Linked DNA regions of Homo sapiens: region 2 is linked to region 1. Evidence: promoter capture Hi-C in 16 types of primary human blood cells and fetal thymus (Javierre and others, 2016). All regions are on one chromosome and are shown on one strand. The core of a region is centred on a gene start or on the middle of the fragment in contact, and the rest is flanking DNA. Distances in the headings are between cores, read along the strand shown. Region 1 holds the start of PRKAR2B (protein kinase cAMP-dependent type II regulatory subunit beta). Region 2 has its middle 80 kb from the start of PIK3CG.

Region 1 (4,753 bases), core at 1,744-4,243:
CTCTTAAGGCGGCGCATCTGGAGTTCCTCCCGGTGGGCTCGTGGTCTCGCTGGCTTCAGGAGTGAAGCTGCAGACCTTCATGGTGAGTGTTACAGCTCATAAAGGCAGTGTGGACGCAAAGAGTGAGCAGTAGCAAGATTTATTGCAAAGAGCAAAAGAACAAAGCTTCCACACTGTGGAAGGGGACCCGAGCTGGTTGCCACCACTGGCTCAGGCAGCCTCCTTTTATTCTCTTATCTGGCCCCACACACATCCTGCTGATTGGTAGAGCCCAGTGGTCTGTTTTGACAGGGCACTGATTGGTGTGTTTACAATCCCTGAGCTAGACACAAAGGTTCTCCATGTCCCACCAGATTAGCTAGATACAGAGGGTCCACACAAAGGATCTCCACGTCCCCACCAGAATAGCTAGATACAGAGTGGCGATTAGTGCATTCACAAACCCTGAGCTAGACACAGGGTGCTGATTGGTGTGTTTACAAACCTTGAGCTAGATACATAGTGCCGATTGGTGTATTTACAATCCCTTAGCTAGACACAAAGGTTCTCCACGTCCCCACCAGACTCAGGAGCCCAGCTGGCTTCACCCAGTGGATCCCGCACTGGGGCTGCAGGTGGAGCTGCCTGCCAGTCCCGCGCTGTGCGCCTGCGCTCCTCAGCCCTTGGGTGGTCGATGGGACTGGGCGCCGTGAAGCAGGGGGCGGCGGTCGTCGGGGAGGCTCGGGCCGCACAGGAGCCCACGGAGTGGGGGGGAGGCTCAGGCATGGCGGGCTGCAGGTCCCGAGCCCTGCCCCGCGGGAAGGCAGCTAAGGCCTGCGAGAAATTGAGCACAGCAGCTGCTAGCCCAGGTGCTAAGCCCCTGACTGCCCGGGGCCGGTGGGTCCGGCCGGCCGCTCCGAGTGCGGGGTCTGCCGAGCCCACGCCCACCCGGAACTCGCGCTGGCCCACAAGCACCACGCGCAGCCCCAGTTCCCGTCCGCGCCTCTCCCTCCACACCTCCCCGCAAGCTGAGGGAGCTGGCTCAGGCCTTGGCCAGCCCAGAAAGGGGCTCCCACAGTGCAGCGGCAGGCTGAAGGGCTCCTCAAGCGCTGCCAAAGTGGGAGCCCAGGTAGAGGAGGCGCCAAGAGCGAGTGCGGGCTGTGAGGACTGCCAGCACGCTATCACCTCTCAATACCAACTCTGAACTGCCCACATTTAGATTCCAGAGAAATAAATCTTAAGCTATTGTATTTCGCATTTTCTGCCACATGTGAGCAGTGTTTATCATAATTAATACAAATATTATCACAAATTTAGACAGGTGATACACATGCATCTTAGATTACCAGATCCGTAAAAATAATAATGCTTACACGGTAGAGAGTAGTACTAACATTGTGCTCCAACCGGTGACATGTGAGGCTCACCATATTTTATAAAAGTTTAATTCTTTTTTTTTTTTTTTGAGACGAAGTCTCACTCTTGTCCCCCAGCCTGGAGTGCAACGGCACTGCACGATCTCGGTTGACTGCAACCTCCGCCTCCTGGATTCAAGCGATTCTTCTGCCTAAGCCTCCTGAGTAGCTGGGATTACAGGTGCCTGCCACCATGCCCGCTAATTTTTGTATTTTTAGTAGAGATGGGGTTTCACCATGTTGGCCAGGCTGGTCTTGAACTCCTGACCTCAGGTGATCCGCCCACCTCGGCCTCTCAAAGTGTTGGGATTACAGGCATGAGTGAGCCACTGCGCCCGGCCAAAAGTTTAATTCTTAAAATGCTCGACACAATTAGAAGCACTTAACTACTGTATATTTAAAGCAACGTAACATTATTACTATAAAGTTGTTAAGAAATGAAAATAGAGAAATACATTGGCTCATGGAGTCAATACAGGATGCATCATTAACAAAGGGTTAACATCAAGATCCATTTTTACAAGAGGGACTAGTTCGTTACATCTCTGATTTCTAGACTTGGAGTTTCCCCAGTCATGTGTTTACTCTTCCGTGGGTGGGAAGATAAATCAGAATAACCAAGTGAGCTTGCTCTTGAAATATTTTATTTACAATGATATGATAATTGTAGAAAATGAAGTATGCGTACTTAAATAGAATTTAATTGACAAAAGACAATTTTCTCTACTTCAAAATTGTAAACATTTGCAAAGTAAGCCTCATTTCAAAGTCAAAGCCTTCTACTTTAAAAGCACACATTAGTAATTCTATTTTTCTTTATACTGAAGTATTTCAATTTTTGGACATACAAGTCAAAAATCATTCAAAGCATAAAGGAAAGTTTCAAAATAATAAGCGCCTCATCCTGCACTATCCTATTTAAAAGAGATCAACTAACTTTGATAGGTGCCTCTCAATAAATGGTGCCTTTGTCTCAATAAATAGTAAATGCGTGGAGTGCACAACGGAATAGCATCAGTAAGACGAAACATAATAAACAGGATGGATCGGGAAAGGCTGGATAAAATGTGGGGAAGAAAAAGAAAGACGTCACAAAGATGGGGTAGCATTTCTTTGTCCAAAAGAGAACCAGTACCACCATAAGACTTTAAACAAAGGACATTAGCAACACTTATCATGCAACTAGATTCTAGAAGGAAAATAAAATGCCACTACTAAGGTGGAGGCTGAAGTTTCAAGACAAATCTCCTGGCACCACCTCTGCGGGGGTTCACCATGGCGAATGACGCCTGGGAAGCGGGGCGAGTGGCCAGCCCGCTCCTGGACGCGCGGACAGGTGGACACGAAGGCGGCCTCGCTGGGCCTCCCTCCGCCTCTCCCGGCCCGGGCGCGCAGCCCTGCGGTGGTCTGACAGGCGGGTGCGCGGCGCCAGCCAGCGGAGGTTGCCATGGTTTCCGGGGGTCACGTGGGCGCGCTCTCCTGCGCCCCCTCCCGCGCACCGCGGCGGGGCGGGGGCGGGGCGCCCGGGCGGGGGAGAGGCGCGGCCGCGGCTGGAGCGGGAGGAGCAGGAGATGCTGCCAGCCCTCCCGGGGCCGCGCTCGCTCAGCCGCCGCCACCACACGGAGCAGACGCGCGCCGGGAGCCGCGGGCCGGGCCAGCCGGGCCGCCGGGGCCCAGTGCGCCGCGCTCGCAGCCGGTAGCGCGCCAGCGCCGTAGGCGCTCGCTCGGCAGCCGCGGGGCCCTAGGCCGTGCCGGGGAGGGGGCGAGGGCGGCGCCCAGGCGCCTGCCGCCCCGGAGGCAGGATGAGCATCGAGATCCCGGCGGGACTGACGGAGCTGCTGCAGGGCTTCACGGTGGAGGTGCTGAGGCACCAGCCCGCGGACCTGCTGGAGTTCGCGCTGCAGCACTTCACCCGCCTGCAGCAGGAGAACGAGCGCAAAGGCACCGCGCGCTTCGGCCATGAGGGCAGGACCTGGGGGGACCTGGGCGCCGCTGCCGGGGGCGGCACCCCCAGCAAGGGGGTCAACTTCGCCGAGGAGCCCATGCAGTCCGACTCCGAGGACGGGGAGGAGGAGGAGGCGGCGCCCGCGGACGCAGGGGCGTTCAATGGTGAGGACCAGACCCCCCACTTCGCGCCCCCGGATCCCCTCGCTGCCCCCCACCGCTCCCCGCTGTGCTCTCGGATCTTGCCGCTTTGCGCACCCACCTCTCCCCGCATTCTCCACCTTTCCCTACCTTCCCATCTCGCCCACCCCCTCAGCATCCATTTCTGTCTCTCCCACTCGCCCACCTTCCTACTCCGCTCTCTGTCATACCCTCTTCCCTTCCTCTAGAGGTGGGAGAGCTGGGATGTTACGCTTCCCTCTTACCCTTTGCCCCCTCTGCCTGGGCCGGTTGGGGTGGGCATCTGCTAGAAAGACAACTTTCGCTGTGGTTGGAGGTATTTCGCTTAGAGGATACCATTGTGCATAAAGAAACTGGCCCGCTTGGCGTCTTCTTTCAGCCCTTGTATTTATTAATGGAATGTCGAAAGAGAAAAGGAGAACCGTGTTTAATATGATTGGCTTTACTGTTGTTAGGACGGTAGATTCGCTAAAAGAAGCATGAAATTGGACTCACTGGGGCAGAACAAAATTTATGGCCAGTAGCTCTGACATTCTTGGAAATAAGAGTTATCTATTATTTTCCAATTTACCAATACCGTGTTGTGTTATTTTTGGACACGTAACAAAGGATTCTATTTAGTCTGAAACCCACGGGGGTCTTTGGAACGAGGAAATGGGTTAATGGTTTGCTTTTTATATAAAAGACATATTGAATGATTTGGTGCTTTATTTTTTTAAAAGTGTATGAGAAAAACACTGTAGGAAGTTCTGAAAGCTTGTTGGTTGTCTTTAGAATGAAAAGCCAGTGAGTAATTGTAAGGATTGTGCCAGACAGTAGAGCTAGAAAGAATGAATGGGAAAGAAAAAGGAATTTTCTCAAATAGCTGCTCCTGGCAAGTCCCACCCCTTCTGCTTACAACCCTCTTTCCCTAACACACCCAGACACACACCCTCATTTACAGCCCCTTGTATTACACAACATGCCCAAATCTCATTTTTATGGCAACCCAAGCTAAAATACCATGGAGTGCAGTGTGCAAGTGTTTTCTCTTTGTGGTGTAAGGCAAACATGCATGCAGCATTGCACCAGCTTTTATTTATTTACACTGCTTGTGGTTTGTGTGTCCGCAGTGTATTTCATAAAATGAAAACATTTAAAAGTGTCATTTCATTTCCTTGTGTATGCTCCTAGGAAGATGTTTCTTTTCTTTGCAGGATTACATGTTGAAATGGATTATAAAATTAGTGTATTTT
Region 2 (4,475 bases), core at 1,797-4,296, 98 kb before region 1:
TAGAGGCAGGGTTTCATCATGTTGACCAGGCTGGCCTCAAACTGCTGACCTCAGGTGATCCACCCACCTCAGCCTCCCAAAGTGCTGGGACTACAGGCGTAAGCCACCGCACCCAGCCTGTATAAAGTTGTTAACTGAAACATTGCTCATCAGAACAAAATACTGGAAACAGTCTAAATGCCCCTTAATAAGGCACTAGTTAAATAAAATCCATACCCTAGAATACTATATAGCCATTAATAAGATTAAGATAGATGCATATATTTATATGTATTGACATGGAAAATGTCCAAGATGTATTGTTAGTGGAAAAAAGAAAGTTACAGAAGGGAATGTTTAATATGAACCCATTTATGTATTTATGTATATAAATATGCATACTATGACCCTGTTTGTGTATCTATATATACTTTGTATATATATATAAATACATAAATGGGGTCATAGTATGCATATATAGATAATAAATGAGTCTTATTATACACAGCAGAGCATGTGCATATGTGTTGTTTGTATACTCTTGAGTAATGTCGGTGGGGGTACCAAACTGCTAACCTGTGGAGAGTGGGATGGGAGGAGAGGTAGTTAGTCTAGAAGGAGGTTGAGAACCTTGATTTTACTGTTGTCTTTAAATTTATGTACTGTTAGAATGTTTTTATGATGAATGTATATTATTTTTATAATTTAAAAAACTCATAAAAATTAATATCTTCTTAAAAATCCTACTATGGCTCCCTGTGGCCAAAAAATAAAGCCCAATCTCCTTAGCTACCAAAGGCTGCCATGATTTGTTTCTGATCTACCCCTCCCTTGCAGCCTCATTTCCTGAATCTCAACTGCCCTGCCCTCCTTCTTTTGCTCCCCTCATCCACTTGGTGGTAATTTGCTTGTTTGCTCTCACATCCACTCCCTGCCCTTCTCCCTTTGCTCTGTACCCCAGAAACTACACTTCCCAAGCTCCCTTTCCCTCTTGCTAGCTTTGGAGTAGCGTTGGCCAGTGGGTGCCGCGGCAGGAGACTGGAAGGCAGGAGTCGGGGAAAGGCCGGAATCCTGCCCCACTGTCTGCTTCAGGTCAGCATCTTTAACGCTGACCTCCTCCCCTGGCTTGTTCCCAGTTCCCACGGAACATTCTCTTCCTTCATAGACCCCATTCCCTTAAGGAAGGTCTACTGTGATTCCCACTTCCACAAGATGGCCCCAGATCCTGGGCTGTGGTAGCACCACCTTCTTTCCCTCCAGTCCTAGAGGAAGCAGCAGCTCCCTGGTACAGCTGAACTCTGAGCTGCCTCACCGTCTCTGTTTGACTTCTTATCCCTTCCATCACTTACATACCCTATTCTCTGCGTTACATTTCCTCTTCTTGAAATACCTGAAGTGCTGTGTGTTTTCGGGCTAAACTGACAAAGATGCACCACTCCCTCTTCCCACAGTGACAAAAAACTTACACAATAAAAGCATACTTTAATACCTCGAGGCTTCTGTTCAAGTCGTTCTCTCAGCCTGGAATATTATTTTTTCCTTTGTCTTTCTGTCAAAACCTTATTTGTTTCTCTCTTCTCCAGGAATCTTTCTCTAATTCCCATACATATTCACCCCTAGTCTGCATTCCAACCACTTCTAGGGAGCAAATGGACTACCCCAATGCACTTTGTGTCAAGTGTTGAATAAAATACTCCAAGGACAAGCAACATCTTAAGCCAATCAACTAACATCCCGTTGGCCATAGGGGATATCTTTTTTTTTCTATTTTGAAAAGCTGACAATAGTCACCTTATCATAAAGCCTTCCCAGACCACCCTGTATCAAGTTTCCCTCCTTCCCCCAACTCCCACTTCACCTCTATTTCTTTCCATCCACATATCCAGCTTTCACATCAAGCATTACAGAAGACAGTAATCAAATCAACGTCCTGGGGTTTACTACAATGTAAGAGCCATATGAGCAGGAATTTGGTCTGTTTGGTTCTCTCTCCTATTCTGAGCAGCTGGAATAGTGCCTACATATTGACAGAATAAATGAATGATTGACAACACACTGTGCTTTGGGTCACGGAAGGTGGAGAGCGAGACTGAAATGGTAGGTAAAAAGATACCAGTTCCAGCCTCATCATACTTTCTCTCCTCTATCTTACAAAACTCCAACTAGCCTTTCTCAGATTCTTGGACCCACTAAGATCTTGCCCAACTTAAGCTCCTTTTCATCTTTAAAGCCCAGTTTAAATATTTCCCATTTTTTTCTTTCCCCTGTCTGTTTCCCAAATAATGTCCATCAAAATTTGTAGTCATTATTTTATTCTCTCATTAGAATATTCATTTCACTAGGTTTAGGACCAGGTATCCCTAGTACCTATACCTGACACATAATAAGTGTTTTATTTATTTATTTATTTATTTATTTATTTATTTATTTATTGAGACAGGGCCCTACTCTGTCACCCAGGCTGGAGTGCAGTGGCACAATCCAGGCTCACTGCACCCTCCATCTCCTGGGCTCAAGCAATCTTCTCACCTCAGCCTCCTGGGTGTCTGGGACTACAGGCACGCACTACCACACCTGACTAATTTTTGTATTTTTTTCTAGAGTCAGGGTTTTATCCTGTTGTCCAGGCTGATCTTGAACTCCTAAGCTCAAGTGATCCACCCACCTCAGCCTCCCAAAGTGCTGGGATTACAGACGTGAGCCATCATGCCTGGCCTACGTGCTCAAAAAAAAAAAAAAGCTTGAAAGAGTGTTGATGAATGGACCAAGGACAAATTTTGCCTCACAGTTTTGATTAAGATCTACTGGGTTGCCCACCATTTAATTTCTGGGGTCAAACCAGGAAACAACATTTTCTAGTAGAAATACTCAAAGCCTTCCACTTGGCCACAGTTGTATTAGGACTAGAAAGTTTCCCTACCTCTACCCTATTTGCACAAATGAGACCCTACTCATCAAATGCCACTGCATAGAAACAGTTCTATGCTACAGCCAGTTCTATCAATCAATGGCTGAATAGTAGAAATAATGGGGAAAGTATTCTTTGAGGATTTTTAGAAGATGCTCTTGAGCAAAATCTCTCTTTCACATGATCTGTATTTTGTGGTGATATTAAAGACCTTCAGGAATTTCAGCTAACTAGTTTCTTATTTTATTTTGGGGACTTGGCATTAGCAGCAATTCAACTCTCAGTCTTTCACAAACCTAAAGATTTAGCTCCCCGAGGGCCTATTCTCTACCATGAGGTATTAGGACAAATGAGAAAAATACTGAATTCCTTGCAGCCTTAGTCTCATATGCTGAATCTTTTTTCATTCTCATACTTATTGTGCCTTTTTAAAATAAAATTATAAGTTAAGATTCCTACCTTTACTAATTCCATCTATTACCAATATAAGCTTCCCCAGAGCTAAATGGCACCATCCTACTCTCTCCTGTTACATGGGCCATGTAACAGTACATTTGCACATACCTGGCACATATTTGATGCTTTAATGAAAGAGGTACTGTAGGGCCGGGTGCAGTGGCTCACACCTATAATCCCAGCACTTTGGGAGGCCAAGGCAGGTGGATCACCTGAGGTCAGGAGTTCTAGACCAGCCTGGCCAACCTGGTGAAACCACATCTTTACTAAGAATACAAAAATTAGCTGGGCATGGTGGCAAGGGCCTGTAATCCCAGCTACTCCAGAGGCTGACGCAGGAGAATCACTTGAACCTGGGAGGCAGAAGTCGCAGTGAGCTAAGATCATACCATTGCACTCCAGCTTCGACAACAGAGCGAGAATCCGTCTCAAAAAAAAAAAAAGAAAGATAGAAAGAAAAAAACAGAAGTACTGTGATTTACCAGTTTTTGTCTTTATGAAGAAAATTGACAAACAATGACATTTTATGATTTTGTAAATAATGCATCCTTTTCTGGGTAATTATTATTGCCAGTACATTATGAAGTCCTTTGTTTTGTTTTATTTTTTAAATGAGTTCACTTTTGCATTTAAGTGCCTCTTAATACCACTTTTTCTCTTCAATTTGGTAATGAATGGCTCCACATTCTTGCTTCAGTTCAGTGAAGGTTCTTTTTTAAAAGCAGGGCCAGCCAGTTTATAGTCATGCATGTCCTGCCTTAGTGTTGAAGTAGATGCGTTTGCAGAAACCAACCCCCAGGGGTCAGAATTAACCAACTAGAAGTGGCCTTAGGGGTTTTAGTCATTAGCTCAAGAACCCTCAGCTGTCTTTCTCTGGAGAGTATCTTCTTATCTGTTGTGAGAGAATTGAGATTTTCTCCAAAGAACTTTTTTACATCTCTTTACCTGAAGATATCAGAGTAGGTCTGGATGACAAAAAGAAAAGGCAATGTCAAAAATCATTGTGAGTAGGCTAATGAACCCTTTGTATATTGCACAAAAATGTTCCTGAATTGACAATTTAGATAACTATTTTAAGTCTTTCCTAATCCTTTAGCAAGAAATAATGTTCTTTGCTGGTTTTCCAACTTAG

The links. Contacts are between HindIII fragments. The CHiCAGO score rates a contact against its expected background, and 5 or more counts as called.
Region 2: a contact is called between a fragment that was not itself captured here and the fragment with the promoter of PRKAR2B in region 1, in 2 of 17 cell types (megakaryocytes and erythroblasts). The highest score is 15.0, in megakaryocytes.

The regions. Positions count from the first base shown.
Region 1 is chr7:107,041,712-107,046,464 of GRCh38, forward strand. It overlaps PRKAR2B (protein kinase cAMP-dependent type II regulatory subunit beta), which reads left to right and starts at 2,994. Exons shown (of 11, transcript NM_002736.3): 1 at 2,994-3,503. The coding sequence starts at 3,197. RefSeq lists silencers at 2,747-3,306, 3,093-3,387. The HindIII fragment of the contact is 4,109 bases long and covers 164-4,272 here.
Region 2 is chr7:106,943,291-106,947,765 of GRCh38, forward strand. No RefSeq gene overlaps it. Among named protein-coding and RNA genes, the nearest start is that of PIK3CG, 80 kb to the left of the region's middle. The HindIII fragment of the contact is 658 bases long and covers 2,718-3,375 here.